Linked DNA regions of Homo sapiens: regions 1, 2 and 3 are each linked to region 4. Evidence: promoter capture Hi-C in 16 types of primary human blood cells and fetal thymus (Javierre and others, 2016). All regions are on one chromosome and are shown on one strand. The core of a region is centred on a gene start or on the middle of the fragment in contact, and the rest is flanking DNA. Distances in the headings are between cores, read along the strand shown. Region 1 has its middle 5.5 kb from the start of OR56B1. Region 2 holds the start of OR52N4 (olfactory receptor family 52 subfamily N member 4). Region 3 overlaps OR52N2 (olfactory receptor family 52 subfamily N member 2). Region 4 holds the start of TRIM6 (tripartite motif containing 6).

Region 1 (2,700 bases), core at 176-2,675, 130 kb after region 4:
TCATAACTTCTCACTTTAATGTGAATCTCAATGCTAGATGTCTATGTGTTCACCTTTTATGATTTACAATAATAAGTTTATATCATGATCAACCCCTTATACACCTCCGGCCACTCATGTTTGTAATATTACATTGATTTCAATTCCATAAAAAATGAAATGACAAGGAATAAACTGTCTCCAATTATAATCCTCATATAAACTTTTGATGTGTATAGCCATTATTTCCTCCTTTCTTGCTATATTTATTTATTGCCAATTTCTTTTTCCTCTCAAGAAAGCCTCTTATAATATGCCTTTGGGATCCCAGACTATCAGTTACTTCTTGGATGTCTCCTGTTTATAACCCATTTGAATTTACTGGCACATTTGCCCCATAGAAAAATTTCTCATAACCTTAGTGATTTTTTTTAAATGAAAGTTCATGAAAAATATTTTTGGAACTAATTATTGCTGCATTCTTATGTCCTATTCTTTTCTTATATTACAATCTAACTTCAACCAGAAGTTGATGTTTCCAGAGAAATACCTGTCATCAAAGCCAGCAGTAACCATTTTTTTTTTTTTTTTTTTTGAGATGGAGTCTCACTCTGGTGCCCAGGATGGAGTGCAGTGGCACAATCTCAGCTCACTACCAGCTCTGCCTCCCGGGTTCATGCCATTCTCCTGCCTCAGCCTCCTGAGTAGCTGGGACTACAGGTGCCCGCCACCATGCCTGGCTAATTTTTTGTATTTTTTGTAGAGATGGGGTTTCACTGTGTTAGCCAGGATGGTCTCGATCTTCTGACCTCGTGATCCGCCCGCCTCAGCCTCCCAAAGTGCTGGGATTACAGGCGTGAGCCACCACGCCCGGCCAGCAGTAACCATTTTTAACAGAACTACCTTAAATTGTGTTATATTATGACTTACTTCTCCAAAATCTATCCACTGTGATTTCTATGATCCCACACAATCCCAGCTTTTCTTTCATGTCTCTAATGTTTTTCATCCTCTTCCCCTTATTTTATTTTTAATGAACCTGACTTTTAAATGTTGGTGTTTCTCAGAGATCCATCTTTGGCTAACTTCTCACTCATTCCAATCTAAGTCCATAGCAATGGGGACCATGAAAGGAAGAGCTGAAAATCCAGAACAGTGTCAAGGCAGAGGGCTTCCTGCAGGAGACAGCAACTAGATGTCTATGCAGAAAACACTGTGCTCTTCATTGCATTAGGAAACTTCTCTTGCCTTTTTGTTTCTTTCAATTATGACCGATGGTGTGCTTAACTAATTCCTTCCCACTGTCATTATTTCTTGCTTCTGATGATATCATCTTGAACTCACCTTGACTATAAGCAGACTTCAAATTATATTAGTATTTGGAATCTGTTCCTTGTAAGAGTAAGCAATGTAGGATGGTCAAAAGGTACAGCCTCATCCCTTCCATTCGTGTATACTGTTCAGTTAATAGAGAATTTAGTCATAGTGTCTAATTTGAAGAGCAATGAAAACTAAAAACTTTCAGGAAGAATCATTTTCTAAGTGAGCACTGGACTAATGGACTCACATATTTGGCAGATTATGAAAAGGACATTGAGGAATTACTGCTCTATTACTTCATATTCTGCAGTCTAAGCGCTCTAAGTTGCTGAGGGTCGGATAAGTTCCTACATCTTATCCACTTCTCATTCATTGTAAATGAGCTTCTTTAAGCATTTTGTATGTTCAAGAAGTTTACTGGAAGAAAGCAGAGAAACCAGCAGGGGAGGCAAGAATTGTGATAATATCGAATTATTATTTGATGTAATACAGTAAAGGGTTTTCTGGCACCTCCAGAATTGTTGTGTACGTCTCAGAATTGTAAGCCTTTTCTCTACATTAAAAATAAGTTTCTCATTAATCTGCAGCTTCCTTCCTGTTCTTGGTCCAAACATTTCCCTAAAACATTACCAAATGGTAGCTCTTAATTTCCTCTAACTAAACATAACAAATGTATTATATCACACCTACCTACATAGGCAAACATTTAACCACATTTTCTAAGGTTAATTGACAGGTACCATTCTTCCAATTTGAGGTAGGTCCCTGCCATGTGAGCCATGGAAAGTGGCTCTCATCACCCCTCCTTTTTTCAGCAACCATATGCTCTTATTTATCCAATTCTCTCTGACTTATCAACAATCTATTTTTCTCTCTACCAAATAGTTCATACCAACCTCCAAAGATGCATTATTTTTCCCGATTTTAAAACAAGAAATGCTTTTTAAAATTTAATTTTTATTTTTGATGTATATTTTCATTTTTAATTGACTAATATATATAAGGGATGCAATGTGATATTGTGATATATGTATACTTTGTGGAATGATTATATCAGTCTAATTAACATAACTATCACCTCATAAAGTTATTTTTTTTGCAGTAAGAACATTTTACATTTATTCTTTCGCAATTTTGAAACATACCATATATTACTATTGACTGTGGTCACCACGTTGTACAATAGTTCTTGAAAATTTACTCTTCCTGTCTAACTGAACCTTTATACACTTTGGTCAACATCTCCGCATCCCCCAGTTCCCCACCTTTTATCCTTTTCAGCATCTGGTAACCACCATTCTACTTTCTACTACAAATTACTCTAAACCCCAACTTCCAACTCTAAACTTCCAACTTCTGCCCTACATTTTCTTGTTTGTACAAACTTCTTTAAAATGTTAT
Region 2 (2,700 bases), core at 118-2,617, 160 kb after region 4:
TTTCATTTAAAGATCACAAGATGTTACATCTATTTTAAGTCTTTCTAAAAAAAATTAACACATATTGTGAGATTCGTCTATATTATGCATATAGTCATAGATTGTTTATTCTTATTGTTACGTGGTATTTCATTGTGGGAATGTACCAAAATTTATTTACCCATTTGATGTTGATGAACATTTAGGTTTTTTCCAGTTTTAGGCTATACTACAAATCATGTTTCAATAAGCATTCTAATTGATGTATTCTAGTAAATATATATACATAGTTTTGTTGGAAATGGCAATGGTGGTCATGTGTATGTTTATCATTATGAGATATCTAATAAAGAGTTGTTCTAATTTACATGTCTACCAGCAGTAAATGAGAGTTCCAGTTGTTCTACATCTTTGCCAATGCTTGGTATTTTTAGTTCTTTTCATTTTAGCTGTCCTGTTTGGTATGTCACTACATACCAAAAAAAGGTGCTTTGTCATGAGAGATACAATTTTTACTTATTTTTCTGATTAATATAAAAGTTTGTGCCTATTTACCTGTTCATTGGCAATTTTATTTCTCTTTTGAAGTGTATGTTTCTTCCTGCAACTTTTTCTTACTGATGTTGTTGAAGTACTTTATATATTTTCTGTATGTATGCATTTGGATATCTTCTAGTTTGCGTTGACTAGATACATAAAGAACAAGAAAGATATCTTGAAAAGTGAAAAAATTGAATCAAAACTTCATTGACTTTTTTAATTTTAAATTTTTGTGGGCACATAGTAGGTGTATATATTTATGGGTGTATGAGATATTTTGATAGAAGCATACAATGTGTAATAATCCCTTTTAAAGGGCCGGGCACAGTGGCTCATGCCTGTAATCCCAGCACTTTGGGAGCCTGATGTGGGTGGATTACCTGAGGTCAGGAGTTGGAGACCAACCTGACCAATATAGTGAAACCCCATCTCTGCTAAAAATACAAAAATTAGCTGGGCGTGGTGGCATGTGCCTGTAGTCGCAGCTACTCGGGAGGCTAAGACAGGAGAATTGCTTGAATCCGGGAGGTGGAGGTTGCAGCCAAGATTGCGCCACTGCACTCCAGCCTGGGCAACAAAGCAAGACTCTGCCTCAAAAAAAAAAAAAAAAAAAAAAAAAAATCCCAGTAAAGTAAATAGGGGTATCCATCATCTCAAACATTTATCCTTTGTGTTACAGACAACCCAATTATATTATTTTAGTTATTTTAAAATATACAATTAAATTATTATTGAGTATAGACACCCAATAAATTTACTAATTTTTGAGACCCCAAGCTTCATTGAGTAATAATTTAATTAAAATTTCAAAATTCTTTGAACAGTGCCTGAGTACCCAAGAATAAATATCAGTCAGTCATTAAGAATAAAAATTAAAAAGTCAACATCTCATCTCTCAGATCATCAGTGAGGTAATCAAATGACTCTTCTTTAAAATTATATCTATATTGAGATGAGTATAGTTATAGTTAAGTAAGATATTCTAATAAAAATACCATTTGAAAAGTCAGAATTATACTTGATTATAAATCTATGAGATTGGGAATATGTCTTTTTATAAAATAATTGATGTTTGATTGGCATCTGTGTTGAAAACTTAGACTGCTCAATAAGAATTTTTTACTGAATCAATTAATTAATCAATCAATAAAACTAAACAGACAAACAAAATTATTTCTTGGCACTCAGAAATTTGGTTGTTGGACCATTAAAATGCATTATGGAATTTTTAAAAGTTGGGGGAGAGGGAGACAGTAAAAATAACCTATATTTTCTCTTGTTTTTTTTTTTAACTCTAGGAAAGCCCAGACAAATTTTGAGCTATTTCATAACCTACCAGACTTATCATGCTAACACTGAATAAAACAGACCTAATACCAGCTTCATTTATTCTGAATGGAGTCCCAGGACTGGAAGACACACAACTCTGGATTTCCTTCCCATTCTGCTCTATGTATGTTGTGGCTATGGTAGGGAATTGTGGACTCCTCTACCTCATTCACTATGAGGATGCCCTGCACAAACCCATGTACTACTTCTTGGCCATGCTTTCCTTTACTGACCTTGTTATGTGCTCTAGTACAATCCCTAAAGCCCTCTGCATCTTCTGGTTTCATCTCAAGGACATTGGATTTGATGAATGCCTTGTCCAGATGTTCTTCACCCACACCTTCACAGGGATGGAGTCTGGGGTGCTTATGCTTATGGCCCTGGATCGCTATGTGGCCATCTGCTACCCCTTACGCTATTCAACTATCCTCACCAATCCTGTAATTGCAAAGGTTGGGACTGCCACCTTCCTGAGAGGGGTATTACTCATTATTCCCTTTACTTTCCTCACCAAGCTCCTGCCCTACTGCAGAGGCAATATACTTCCCCATACCTACTGTGACCACATGTCTGTAGCCAAATTGTCCTGTGGTAATGTCAAGGTCAATGCCATCTATGGTCTGATGGTTGCCCTCCTGATTTGGGGCTTTGACATACTGTGTATCACCAACTCCTATACCATGATTCTCCGGGCAGTGGTCAGCCTCTCCTCAGCAGATGCTCGGCAGAAGGCCTTTAATACCTGCACTGCCCACATTTGTGCCATTGTTTTCTCCTATACTCCAGCTTTCTTCTCCTTCTTTTCCCACCGCTTTGGGGAACACATAATCCCCCCTTCTTGCCACATCATTG
Region 3 (2,700 bases), core at 108-2,607, 230 kb after region 4:
TGATTGGTGTGTTTGATATCTGCTGTATCTCTGTATCTTACACTATGATTTTGCAGGCTGTTATGAGCCTGTCATCAGCAGATGCTCGTCACAAAGCCTTCAGCACCTGCACATCTCACATGTGTTCCATTGTGATCACCTATGTTGCTGCTTTTTTCACTTTTTTCACTCATCGTTTTGTAGGACACAATATCCCAAACCACATACACATCATCGTGGCCAACCTTTATCTGCTACTGCCTCCTACCATGAACCCAATTGTTTATGGAGTCAAGACCAAGCAGATTCAGGAAGGTGTAATTAAATTTTTACTTGGAGACAAGGTTAGTTTTACCTATGACAAATGAAACATAGAATAGACATATTGTTTCAGGTGGTGAGAAAATAATGGAGACAAAATTTCATAAAAGATGTGAATAAAATGGTATTAAAATCATGACATGTAATTTACCCATGTAACAAACTTGCACGTGTACCTAAAATAAAAATAGAAATAAAAAATCAAAATAAAGACATAAATTTGTAAGTCACCATAATATGTCAATTTTCTGAAGTCTCTGCAAGTTCTTGAATTTGTGTGTGTTGGGAGTGGGGGCAAGGATCTGCCAAAGCAGAGAATGCAAAATAAAGAAGTAATATACCCATTACTTAAAGAGTTGATGCTTTTCCTAAGCGTTTATAGACTCACATGTTTGTGAGACCAGAAAGGTAGTAAAATAAGGACAGCAGACCTGCTGACAATCCCTGCGTTGCGTGTAAGTGGGGAGGCTGTAGAGACATAGAGAAACGTGGGTCCAGTGTTCACTATTTTTCAGTATTTTTTAAAGACAAGCTAGATTTATATGTTCTATGAAATCTCCCCATTTTAATTGTCAGCAAAATATGTGTTAAAATACCCTATAATTCACAGAAGAATGTCCAAGGGTTCTGTTTTTCCCAAGTCATCAGTTTAGGGTCTCCATTTAAAATGGATCTAAATGGGAACAATAGACTCCAGGTTCTTCGAAAGGAGCGGGAAGAATAAACACTGAAAAGCTTTCTGTTGGATACTACATTCACTATCTGGGTGAAAAAATCTACAGAAGCCCAAACTTCAGCATCATGTAATATAACCTTGTAACAAACCTACACATGTACACTCTGAATCTAAAGTAAAAATAAAATAAATAAATAAATTATAAAATGGATCTGAAAATATAATTGTCATGTTATTGACCAAGCAGGCAAACCATTAAGCTATTAGTATATATTATAATTTATTTATTCATTCACTCATCAATTCATTTTTTGAAACACTAATTTAAGCAATATTATTAGTCATATCTTAGATTTATTGAGAGGGAGGCAGATGATACGGTTCCTGGTTTCAAGATACTCAGAATCTGGACTGTAGCCAGGGATGTGTGAGAAGAAATACATATAAAAGAAAGGGGAGAGAGAAAAAATGAATGCAGTGTGAAGGAAATAAAAAGTTTGTAGGAAAGAATTGGGGGAAATATAACATCAGTTTCAGATTCAATTCATCTCAAGTGTTAAGTCCTCTGTCTTTTAATTTCTAGCCACTAGAGTTGGACAGGCTACATAATCTCTCTAAATTTTGACTTCCATATTTTCTTCCAAATGTGAAAAAGAAAATGTATCACAGAGATGTTTCTTCTAATTAAATGCTCTGATGCAAAAAAAGCTTGTAGCACAATCTCTGATGTATACTAACCATTCAATAAATTTTAGTTATTTTTATGAGCTATTAGTTTCAACTCTGATTCATTATGAAAATCATAGTTTGAGGATAAATCTTTCCAGTTGTACAGGCAGTGCACAGTGCAGTATCAGTTTTGTGTGGACAAGCTTTCTTTTCTTTTTTTTTTTTGAGATGGGGTCTCACTCTGTCACTCAGGTTAGGCTGCAGTGGCATCATCTCGGCTCACTGCAACCTCTGCCTTCTGGACTCAAGTGATCCTCCCACCTCAGCCTCCTGAGTAGTTGTGACACAGGCATGCCCCACCATGCCCAGCTAATTTTTTTGTATTTTTGGTAGAAACAGGGTTTCACTATGTTGCTCAGGCTGGTCTTGAACTCCTGAGCTCAGGAGATTCGCCTGCCTTGGCACCCCAAGGTGCTGGGATTACAGGTGTGAGCCACTATGCCCAGCCATGGGCAAGTTTTCACTGAGTTCTCACAAACATACTATCAATGTCAGCCAACAAGTTTTTCTGGGTACAATCATGTGCCTGACTCCATGTGCCTACTCCACGCTGAGAAATGTAAATGAAAACAAAAACACTAGCTAATTCCTTGTCTAGTAGAGGATATAAAATGCAATGGAATCATTATAAAATGATAACAAGGTAATTGTACATCACAGATGTTCACAAAACTCATGAATCCTGAGAGCATGATCATCAATATCTATTGGAGGTAGTGAGTAAAGATTTTACAGGGAAAATAGTATATAGGGTCAATCTCGAATTATATGTATAAGTGTCCTACAAGGAAAAGCAGATGGAAATTATTTGGAAAAAAATAAACAACCTAGCTCTAATATTAAGGCTGAACAAAGAATAGCAAGTTTAGGTTCACAAAGGTTTTTGTATATTCAGAGGTAAAAGAGAAAGGGTGAGGAGTAAAAAATGTGACTAGAAAGGTAGACAGAGGTCCTATCAGGAAGTGCTTTGTGAGTCTTGTCACAACTTCAGGCAT
Region 4 (2,700 bases), core at 11-2,510:
AGTTATATAGGTCAAAATTACAGATACACACACACAGCTTTATACATACATACGTGTAATTTTAAACTGATGAATTTTAATGATCGTTTGGCAAAACATGCCATTATGCAAAGGGGCTTTTACTCGTATAACTTTATATGTTTATTTAGACATTTTAATTAATACGTCTATATGGAGTACAGGTGTATTATCAGTGTAATTAAACTCTGATATGATATTAGAAAGCTACAGTACACTGCAGACAATTTACAAGGGTCATCTCTGGCCTGGTGTTCTCAAAGGCCTCCGGATTTGCCGTTCATCAGGTAAGATGAACAGCTTTGCGTTGCTACCTTCAAAAATTCTTTTTTTTTTTTTTTGAGAGAGAGTCTCGCTCTGTCTCCAGGCTGGAGTGCAACCTCCACCTCCCGGGTTCAAGCGATTCTCCTGCCTCAGCCTCCCGAGTAGCTAGGACCACAGGCGCGCCCAGCTAATTTCTGTATTTTTAGTAGAGACAGGGTTTCATCATGTTGGCCGGGATGGTCTCAATCTCCTGACCTCGTTATCCGCCCGCCTCGGCCTCCCAAAGTGCTGGGATTACAGGGGTGAACCACCGCGCCTGGCCTCAGAAACCATCTCCATCTCCCTTACCACCTGAGGGGTCACTGGTGACCACACCCATGGAATCGGCTGGATCTCCTGCGGGGCTGGACAATTTGACCCTCCTCCTCCCCAGGCCCCGCCCCTTCCCCCCTGAGTCTTTCGGCCTGGGTGGAGGACGCGGCTGCTTCAAGTCCTTGGCTCTGATCCAGGCCACAGATTCCAGGTTAGTGAGCAAGTTTATTTTCTGGCCAGCTACCGCTGTCCCCACTTGTCTGGAGAGTTTGACCCGCTCTGCAGGTCGGGTTGGGGGTGGTTCACGGGTGAAAGAAGAATGAGGGAGACTTCTGCATTTTCAAGTGAACTCAAGTTTGGGAAGGGAGCACAGAAGAGGCACCTTTGCAGCTGGGAATAGGCCGTGTAAAGAGAGTTAAACCTCTATTCTACAAGCTGAAGTATGTAGAGGAGGCAGCTCTGGAAACTGCTTTAGGGAATCACTGCAAACCATTTTGTCAGGCGTGGATTCAGAGTCAGCATCCCTTCCCCCCTTCCCCCGTTCTCCCCTTCCCCCCTTCCCCCTTCCCCCTTCCCCCTTCCCCCTTCCCCTCCCCCATCTCCAGCCTGGCCGCTCCAGGAAGTGAGCACCGTTTATCCCCCACCCCAGGCGGCCCGACTCCTCCCAGAAGGAGTTGGGAGATGAGCCTTCCGCAAACTCCTGACCTGTGGGTCCGTCCGTTCAACGGCCAAAGGCTGGCGGAGGAGGGATCCCCTGCCTTTCTCGGAACGGAACGGAGCAGAGTCGTGCGTGGTTGAGTTTAGATAAAAGCCGAGTGAGCGCGCTCTGTTCCTTAAGATTAGTTTAAGGTGCCTTGGATTGCTCTGAAGAGCTTTGACCACCTGATATTGCTTACATCTGGAACTTCTTGGCTTCTCATTCCCCAGATGTGCGGGTCAGAGAGGTATGTCTACCGTTCTGTTGACTGGCTCTTATTGTCACTTCTGGCAGAGGTGACAGGGCAGTGAAAGAGATAAGGTCCTTTCCCTTTCGGAACTCATTATATCTTTATTTCTTTTTCTTTCTCACTGCAAATGACCCCACTGAGGTTAGAGACATTTTAATCAGTCAGTCAATAGAGACAGAAATGTGTGGTTAGGAGCATAGATGCCGCAGCCAGACTGCATGTGTTCAAATCCTGACTCTGACAGACACTGGCTGTGTGCCCGAAGACTGTTAACTTGACTTCTTTGAGCTTTAGTTTCTTCCATCTATAAGATGGACGGAGTAATATGTATATCTTAGAGTTTTGGTGAGGATTGAGTGAGACAGATTTAAACACGTAGGAGGCTGCCTGACACAAATTATGGTCATTATTACTGGCAAACTCCATGCCTAGCTTTAAAAAAATGCACAATCAAAACAATTTTTAAATTATAGGTTTCTGAAATGCAGGGGGTAGAAATTCTTTTGAAGTGGAAATTAAATTTTTTGTTTTGAAACTGATTATGTTCCAATTCAAATATTTATTGAGTCCTGTTAGATAATCAATTGCAGATAATAGGTTAAATATAACCCTACACAAAGATAAAAAAAAATGTTATTCCTAAAGTGCAAGAACTCATGCCCAACTCACTTATAAATGCAACTGCCACCTATTTTATTCCACTTTCACTAGGGCTCCCAGCTGGTGGACGGGCCCGCTCTGTCATTCCTAACTCTGAACCCCCAGCCTACACCAGCCCCAGTATCCCCTGCTGAGTCACTGATTTTTATTCTGAAAGCCATTTTGATATCGATGCAAGCTTCCATTCTAAAAGATGCTTCGTATCTAAATAGCAGGCCATTCTCTGTCCCCCTCCCTCTTCTAGCTGTTTTGCACCCTAAATTGTATCCACCTGGGAAAGAAGGTCCTTTATCTAAGGCAGTGCTTCTGAAGCCTTAATGTGCGTAAGAATCACCTAGAGAACTTTAATATTAAAGTGCAGATTCTGAATCATTCCAGGAAAGACTGAGATTCTGCATAAAGAACTCCAAGTGCTTGCAGTGTTGCTAGTTAGCAGACCTTTTTCAGGCGTCTGGTTCTGATTTAATTGGTCCCACCTGGTTGTGAATTTGGGCTCTTT

What was found. The method cuts DNA at HindIII sites, captures the fragments that hold promoters and counts their contacts. A CHiCAGO score of 5 or more calls a contact.
Region 1: a fragment that was not itself captured here is called in contact with the fragment with the promoter of TRIM6 in region 4 in 1 of 17 cell types (activated CD4 T cells); the score reaches 5.2 in activated CD4 T cells.
Region 2: a contact is called between the fragment with the promoter of OR52N4 here and the fragment with the promoter of TRIM6 in region 4, in 12 of 17 cell types (total CD4 T cells, activated CD4 T cells, total CD8 T cells and 9 more). The highest score is 7.9, in total CD4 T cells.
Region 3: a fragment that was not itself captured here is called in contact with the fragment with the promoter of TRIM6 in region 4 in 6 of 17 cell types (total CD8 T cells, activated CD4 T cells, total B cells and 3 more); the score reaches 6.7 in total CD8 T cells.

Annotation. Positions count from the first base shown.
Region 1 is chr11:5,729,636-5,732,335 of GRCh38, forward strand. It overlaps a transcript of OR52N4 not described here. Among named protein-coding and RNA genes, the nearest start is that of OR56B1, 5.5 kb to the right of the region's middle. The HindIII fragment of the contact is 5,391 bases long and covers 1-2,700 here.
Region 2 is chr11:5,752,876-5,755,575 of GRCh38, forward strand. It overlaps OR52N4 (olfactory receptor family 52 subfamily N member 4), which reads left to right and starts at 1,368. Exons shown (of 2, transcript NM_001005175.5): 1 at 1,368-1,430; 2 at 1,818-2,700. The coding sequence starts at 1,866. The HindIII fragment of the contact is 4,248 bases long and covers 1,295-2,700 here.
Region 3 is chr11:5,820,955-5,823,654 of GRCh38, forward strand. OR52N2 (olfactory receptor family 52 subfamily N member 2) reads left to right here. Exons shown (of 2, transcript NM_001005174.3): 2 at 1-529. The coding sequence ends at 347. Among named protein-coding and RNA genes, the nearest start is that of OR52N2, 13 kb to the left of the region's middle. The HindIII fragment of the contact is 649 bases long and covers 1,034-1,682 here.
Region 4 is chr11:5,595,377-5,598,076 of GRCh38, forward strand. It overlaps TRIM6 (tripartite motif containing 6), which reads left to right and starts at 1,261. Exons shown (of 8, transcript NM_001003818.3): 1 at 1,261-1,538. The coding sequence starts at 1,522. It overlaps TRIM6-TRIM34 (TRIM6-TRIM34 readthrough), which reads left to right and starts at 1,261. Exons shown (of 14, transcript NM_001003819.4): 1 at 1,261-1,538. The coding sequence starts at 1,522. It also overlaps a transcript of TRIM5 not described here. RefSeq lists enhancers at 583-877, 1,032-1,949, 1,196-1,245. The HindIII fragment of the contact is 2,426 bases long and covers 1-2,377 here.